Regions from separate parts of the Homo sapiens genome. Here all the other regions are linked to region 1. Evidence: promoter capture Hi-C in human tissues and cell types (Jung and others, 2019). All regions are on one chromosome and are shown on one strand. The core of a region is centred on a gene start or on the middle of the fragment in contact, and the rest is flanking DNA. Distances in the headings are between cores, read along the strand shown.

Region 1 (2,538 bases), core at 28-2,527:
TAATATATATTTTTTCTTAAGTATTTTATTTTGTTTTTGAAACAGGATTTCACTGTTGCCCAGGGTGGAGTGCAGTAGGGCGCGATCTCGGCTCACTGCAACCTCCACCTCTTGGGCTCATGTGATTCTTCCACCTCAGCCTCCCGAGTAGCTGGGATTATAAGCCAAGCACGCATCGTCACATCCGGTAATTTTTGTATTTTTAGTAGAGAAGGGGTTTCTCCATGTTAGCCAGGCTGGTTTCGAACTCCTGGCCTCAAGTGACCCACCCACCATGGCCTCCCAAAGTGCTAGGATTGAAGGCGAGAGCCACCGCGCCCGGCCACCGTGTTGGCCACCATGTTAACTAGAGGTGTTAGCAACCTCCTGTGGGCCAGGCCCTTCAGGGGCATTACCTTGGGCTTACCACATCAGGCCCCTGAGAGTTGGGGGCTTCTACCTATGTGGAGGACCCAGAAGAGCTAATATGGGGGGCGGGGGTTGGAGGTGAAGGGCAGGAGTTAGGTGAGGGGAGATGGTGATCTCTGGCCTCACAGGAGGGTGCCCCTGAAAGAACAAACCCCAGGTCCTGAGGCGCTTTCAGGCTCAGGTGTGATAGGGGACCCTTTTGTTGTGGAGACAGGGTCTCACTCTGTCATCCAGGCTGGAGTGCAGTGGCGCGATCTCCGCTCACTGCAGCCTCAACCTCTTGGTCTCAAGCGATTCTCCCACTTCAGCCTTCGGAGTAGCTAGGACTACATGCACACGCCACCATGCCTGGATAATTTTTGTATGTTTGGTAGAGACAGGGTTTTGCCATATTGTCGAACTCCTGGGCTCAAGGAATCCTCCCACCTCAGCCTCCCCAGTAGCTGGTATTACAGGCTTTCTCCACTATGTCCGGCTAATTTTTGCATTTTTTTGGTAGAGATGGGGGTCTTGCCATATTGCTCAGGCTGGTCTCGAACTCCTGACCTCAAGCCATCCTCCCGCCTTGGCCTCCTAAAGTGCTAGGATTACAGGCAAGAGCCCCTGGCGTCCGGCCTGACCTTTCTTAATATCCCTTTGGAGCAAAGTAGGGGCGGCTCTATCAGGACTCCAAGGAAAGACGGGAAGGGAGATGGGGCCAACCCGCCAGAGCTCCAGAGCACCGGGTTCTCACCTGGCGTAAGGATTATGCTAATACAAGCCCCGCCCCGTCCCAGGCCCCGCCCACCCGATCGGCCTATGGTGTGGGGGCGGGGCTATGTTAATGAGGCCCGGCTGGCCAAGAGCTGTTCCCCGCGCTGCGCGGAGCAGGGACCAGGCGGTTGCGGCGGCGACAGCCATGGCCGGCGCGCTGGCAGGTCTGGCCGCGGGCTTGCAGGTCCCGCGGGTCGCGCCCAGCCCAGACTCGGACTCGGACACAGACTCGGAGGACCCGAGTCTCCGGCGCAGCGCGGGCGGCTTGCTCCGCTCGCAGGTCATCCACAGCGGTCACTTCATGGTGTCGTCGCCGCACAGCGACTCGCTGCCCCGGCGGCGCGACCAGGAGGGGTCCGTGGGGCCCTCCGACTTCGGGCCGCGCAGTATCGACCCCACACTCACACGCCTCTTCGAGTGCTTGAGCCTGGCCTACAGGTGAGGGCGGTTCCGGGCCCTGACGGCCTTGGCTTCCAGGTGGGGATGGGGGGGGGGTCCGGGGCAGGACTGCGCGCTGGGGCCCTCAACACCCCACCCGAGCCCGGTCCTGCGGCTCCCGGAGGCTCCGATCACGCCCTGGACACCCCCTTTCTCCCAGCCCCGAGGTCCTCCTACAGCGGCCCAGCCCGCTGGCCCCTGACGGACCCACGCATTTCTGATTCCCATTCCTCCCCCATTCCCTCTTCCCCGAAGCGCAGACCGCCTGCGCCCCACCTCTACCTGGACCTCTGGTCCCCTCTCTCTGGTCCCAGCCCCTCCGTCCCTACAAAAATGCCAGGCGCCCCTGGTCCCTAGGCCACCCGCGCCCATCCCCACTCTCCACTCTGGAGCCACTCCACCCGACCCCCTGCAGGCCTCGGCCTTCTCCCCAGCAGCCCCGGCCCAAGCCCGCCCTATTCCTGGACCCTGAGATACTCCCAGCGCCCCTGATTGTCCCAGTTCATAACCAAAGTGGACTGGAACTGGCCCACTCTCACGTCCACCTCCCCGCAATTGCTGAGACACCTCTTCTTGATCTGCTACATTAAGGGTGGCGGGAGGAGGATGTCCCAGAAATGTCCAAGAGGCGCAGCTCGCAGAGGTTACGCCGGTGCCCGGGAGGCCTGGGTTCGCCTACCCACGTCGCCACACTAGGCTGAGCGCCCGTCGCTGCCTGGGACCCCCGCTTAGTGCCACCGAGAGCGCACAGGCCGCGCCCCGCTGCCGCTCCACGCCCCGCGTCCCAGAGGAGGGCGCGAACCCGAGGCCTGGCCCAGTGCCCTGGAGCAAAGTTCCCCGGAGTTGAGGGGCCAGTATAAATTATCAACCGAAAACCCGTAGGGGAGAAAGGGGGATCGGCCGGCCTTGATCTTTTCTCTGTGCAAATATTCCTCTTCC
Region 2 (2,538 bases), core at 15-2,514, 200 kb before region 1:
CACGCTCAACTCAATGCTCTTTTTATATCAGGGCGTAAGCATTGTGGCTTGAGCTTTTGAAGTGTGCTTCAGCGCTCACCCACAGCACTCATCTCCCACCTCTTTTCCTCCCTCCCTCCCTCCCTTTATGCTTTCTTGCTTCTCTCCAACTGAGCAGGGGGAGTGTGGATGCCCAGGGGCCTGCCAGCTGCCACCCAGTTGGTGTCACTACCCCCCCAGCATCAGTCTCCATCCCCATGTCCCCATACAGGCTGGCTCTCCTCACCCACATCCGTGCAACAAGCATCCATGTTTATTTTCTTTCAGTCAATTTCATTCCCATTCTTTGCCATCTCAGCAGGCTGGCAGAGAACTCACAGTCAGTCCTTCCTGTAGCTCCCACTCTGACCTGGATATATGCGGTCCCAGGACATCAGGAAGGGAAGGCCCTCACTTGTCCCATCAGCCATTGCCAAGCTTTGGCTGCCATAAAAACCTCCAGGCTTCAGTTTGTGTGATGTCTTCAGGGCCTGGGGCTCACTGGCCTTGCAGTCACACTGAGGAATCAGAAATCACTGGTGGGACCAGACGAGGTGGCTCACGCCTGTAATCCCAGCACTTTGGGAGGTCCAGGTGAGAGAATCACTTAAGGTCAGGAGTTCCAGACCACCCTGGGCAACATAGCAAGACCCTGTCTCTACAAAAAAAAAAAAACAATTTTTTTAAAGATTTTAGGCCGGACGTGGTGCCACACAACTGTAATCCCAGCACTTTGGGAGGCCCAGGTTGGTGGGTCACTTGAGGTCAGGAGTTCGAGACCAACCTGGCCAACGTGGCGAAACCCCGTTGCTACTAAAAGTACAAAAATTAGCTGGGCGTGGTGGCATATGCCTGTAGTCCCAGCTACTTGGGAGGCTGAGGTGGGAGAATTGCTTGAATCCAGGAGGCGGAGGTTGCAGTGAGCCAAGATCACGCCACTGCACTCCAGCCTGGGCAACAGAGGGAGACTCCGTCACAAAAACAAACCAACCAACCAACAAAAAATTAAAATAGTTGTTATTGGGGTCTTTGTGAATAAAACAAAAATAAAATGGAGGCCGGGTGTGATGGCTCATGCATGTAATCCCAGCGCTTTAGGAGGCCGAGGTGGGCAGATCACAAGGTCAGAAGTTAGAGACCAGCCTGGCCAACATGGTGAAACCCTGTCTCTACCAAAAATACAAAAAATTAGCGGGGCATAGTGGAAGGCACCTGTAATCCCAGCTACTCAGGAGGCTGAGGCAGGAGAATCACTTAAACCCGGAGGCAGAGGTTGCACTGAGCTGAGACTGCACCACTGTGCTCCAGCCTGGGCAACAGAGCGAGATTCTGTCTCAAAAAAATAAAATAAAATGGAAAAAAAAAGAAGAAACAAAAAAATCTGTAATCCCAGCACTTTGGGAGGCCAAGGCGGGTGGATCACCTGAAGTCAGGAGTTCAAGACCAGCCTGGCCAAATGGTGAAACCCCATCTCTACTAAAAATACAAAAATTAGCTGGGCATGGTGGCGCACGCCTGTAATCCCAGCTACTCGGGAGGCTGAAGCAGGAGAATTGCTTAAACCCAGGAGGCGGGGGTTGCAGTGAGCCGAGATCGGGCCACTGCATTCCAGCCTGGGCGACGAGCAAAACTCTGCCTGAAAAAAAAAAAAGTGTTTTTTTTAGTTTAAAAGAAGTTTTTAAACTCCAAAAAATGTATGCAGATACTTCTGCCCTCATGGCGGGGAGAATAACATGAGTATGGGCTGTACAGGGTGACTTCGTTCCAAGGGGTGCAGCACAGGAAGGGTAACATTACAGCGGAGAAAGCTGGCAATCACTGCCCCAGCCAGGAGATCAAAGTCAACATCAGTAGTTATTTGTCATGCTAATAATCTATACTCGTGATAGAATGTAAAGCAAATGGCACTTTACCTGTGATCTTTCTCCTAAAAACCCATAATCCTAATCTAATCATGAGAAAAACATCAGACAAATCCCAAGACAGGAGCATCTGCGATATAGCTGACCAGCACTCCTAAAACCTGAAGATCGTCATAACAAGGAAAGGCTGAGACACTGTGGCAGCCAAGAGGAGCCGTCGTTACGTGATGACTAAATGTCACCTGGTGTCCTGGGTGGGCTCCTGAAGCAGAAACAGAACACTGGGGAAGAGCCATAGAAATCAATATATGTAAACGAATGCAAATATGTGTAAATAAATGTAAATAGTATGTAAGTAAGTGTAAATTGTATGTAAATAAATGTGATATGGGATCCCAGATGAGATCCTGGAACAGAAAAAGACCATTAGATAAAAAACTGTGTGGCTGGGCAAGGTGGCTTACGCCTGTAATCCCAGCACTTTGGGAGGCTGAGGAGGGAGGATCACTTGAGGTCAGGAGCTCGAGACCAGCCTGGGCAACATGGTGAAACCCCGTCTCTACTAAAAGTACAAACATTAGCCAGATGTGGTGGCGGGTGCCTGCAGTCCCAGCTACTCGAGAGGCTGAGGCAGGAGGATTGCTTGAACCCGGGAGGC
Region 3 (2,538 bases), core at 10-2,509, 130 kb before region 1:
GGGGAAGCCTTCCCAAGCAGGATTCACTGATGGGCAACAGCAAGGAGAAAAATGATATGCACAAGGCAGAAAAATGATATGCACAAGAGTGAGCAGAGGCTGACCTGATTGAAGCAGGAAATTCATATCCAGAAACAGTAAGAGGCCAGGCGCGGTGGCTCATGCCTGTAATCCCGGCACTTTGGGAGGTCGAGGCAGGCGGATCACCTGAGGTCAGGAGCTCAAGACCAGCCTGGCCAACATGGTGAAACACCGTCTCTACTAAAAATACAAAAATTAGCCAGGCATGGTGGTGCGAGCCTGTAATCCCAGCTACTCAGAAGGCTGAGGAACAAGAATTGTTTGAACTTGGGAGGTGGCGGTTGCAGTGAGCTGAGATTGCACCACTGCACTCCAACCTGGGTGACAGAGTGAGACTCTGTCTCAGAAAAAAAAAGAACAAAGTTGGAGGACTCATACTTTCTGCTTTCAAAACTTACTACAAAGCTACAGTAATCAAAACAGTGGTACTGGCATGAAGACAGACATATAGACCAATGGAATAGAATAAAAAGCTCAGAAATAAACACTCATATATGAAGTCAAATAATTTTCAATAAGGATACCAAAACCACTCAGTGAGGAATGGGCAATCTTTTCACAGATAATGCTGGGAAAACTGGATATTTGCATGCAAAAAAATGAAGTTGGTTCCTTAACACCATATAAAAAAATTTACTCAAAATGGATCAAAGACCTAAATATAAGATCTAAAACTATAAAACTTAGATGGCTGATCAACCAAGTTTATAGGATATTATAAATCCTTTGTTGTCATTTCAACAGTGTTCACACAATCTTCACCAGGAGTAGTTTCCATCTCAAGAAACCACTTTCTGGCTGGGCGCGGTGGCTCACGCCTGTAATGCCAGCAATTTGGGAGGCTGAGGCAGGTGGATCACTTGAGGTCAGGAGTTTGAGACCAGCCTGGCCAACATGGTGAAACCCTGTCTCTACTAAAAATACAAAAATTAGCTGGGCATGCTGGCACGTGCCTGTAGTCCCAGCTACTTGGGAGGCTGAGGCAGGAGAATCGCTTGAACCCAGGAGACAGAGATTGCAGTGAGCCCAGACGGCACCATTGCACTCCAGCCTGGGTGACAGAGCAAGACTCCGTCTCCAAAAAAAAAAAAAAAGAAACCGCTTTCTTTGCTCATCATAAGAAGCAACCCCTTGCCAGGCACAGTGGCTCATGCCTGTAATCCCAACACTTTGGGAGGCCAAGGCAGGCAGATCACTTGAGACCAGGAGTTCAAGACCAGGCTAGCCAATAAGGCGAAGCCCCTCTCTAAAAAAAAAAAAAAAAATACAAAAAGTAGCAGGGTGTGGTGGTGCACAGCTGTGATCCCAGCTACTCAGGAGGCTGAGGCATGAGGATCTCTTGAACCCACGAGGCGGAGGTTACAGTGAGTCAAGATCACACCACTGCACTCCAGCCTGGGCAACAGAGCGAGACTCTGTCTCAAAAAACACCAAGACGTAACAAAGAAGCAACTCATCATCTTTTCAAGTTTGATCATGAGATTGTAGCAATTCAGTCCCATCTTCACGCTTGGCTTCTAATCCTAGTTCTTTTGTTATTTCCACCACATCTGCAATTCCTTCCTCCACTGAAGTCTTGAATCCCTCAAACTTATCCATGAGGGTGGAATTCACTTCTTCTAAACTCCTGCTAATGTGGATATTGTCACCTCCTCCCATGAACCCTGAATGTTCTTAATGGCTTCCAGAATGGCGAATTCTTTCCAGGAGGTTTTCAATTTACCTTGCCCAGATCCATCAGAGGAATCACTATCTATGGCAGCTACAGCCTCACAAAATGTATTTCTTAAATAATAAGACTTAAAAGTCTAAATTGCTCCTTGATCCATGAACAGCAGAATGGATGTTTTATTTGCAGCCATGAAAACAACATTAATCTCTTTGTACATCTTCAGCAGAGCTCTTGGGTGACCAGGTGCATTGTCAATAAGCAATACTATTTTGAACAGAATCTTTTCTTTTTTCTGAGCAGGAGGTGTCAACAGTGGGCTTCAAATATTCAGCAAACCATCTTGTAAACAGATGTGCAGTCACCTAAGCTTTGTTGTTCCATTTCTAGAGCACAGGCAGAGTCGATTTAATGTAATTCTTTTTTTTTTTTTTTTTTTTTTTTTGAGATAGAGTTTCGTTCTTGTTGCCCAGGCTGGAGTGCAGTGGCGCAATCTCGGCTCACGGCACTGCCTCCTGGGTTCAAGCGATTCTCCTGTCCCAGCCTCCCAAGTAGCTGGGATTACAGGCATATGCCACCACACCTGGCTAATTTTTGTATTTTTAGTAGAGACAGGGTTTCATCATATTGGTCAGGCTGGTCTCGAACTCCTGACCTCAGGTGATCTGCCCACCTCAGCCTCCCAAAGTGCTGGGATTACAGGTGTGAGCCACCGCACCTGGCCGATTTAATGTAATTCTTAAGGGCCCTGGGATTTTCAGAATGGCAAAGGAGCATTGGTTTTAACT

Evidence for each region. The method cuts DNA at HindIII sites, captures the fragments that hold promoters and counts their contacts. A contact is called where the count stands out against the background at its distance.
Region 2: a fragment that was not itself captured here is called in contact with the fragment with the promoter of MLXIPL in region 1 in 1 of the 25 tissues and cell types used here (dorsolateral prefrontal cortex).
Region 3: a contact is called between a fragment that was not itself captured here and the fragment with the promoter of MLXIPL in region 1, in 1 of the 25 tissues and cell types used here (IMR-90 fibroblasts).

The regions. Positions count from the first base shown.
Region 1 is chr7:73,623,261-73,625,798 of GRCh38, reverse strand. MLXIPL (MLX interacting protein like) reads left to right here and starts at 1,277. Exons shown (of 17, transcript NM_032951.3): 1 at 1,277-1,599. The coding sequence starts at 1,307. The HindIII fragment of the contact is 21,137 bases long and covers 1-2,538 here.
Region 2 is chr7:73,819,508-73,822,045 of GRCh38, reverse strand. No RefSeq gene overlaps it. Among named protein-coding and RNA genes, the nearest start is that of CLDN4, 10 kb to the left of the region's middle. RefSeq lists an enhancer at 1,589-2,167. The HindIII fragment of the contact is 3,377 bases long and covers 1-2,538 here.
Region 3 is chr7:73,751,618-73,754,155 of GRCh38, reverse strand. No RefSeq gene overlaps it. Among named protein-coding and RNA genes, the nearest start is that of ABHD11, 14 kb to the right of the region's middle. The HindIII fragment of the contact is 3,086 bases long and covers 1-2,538 here.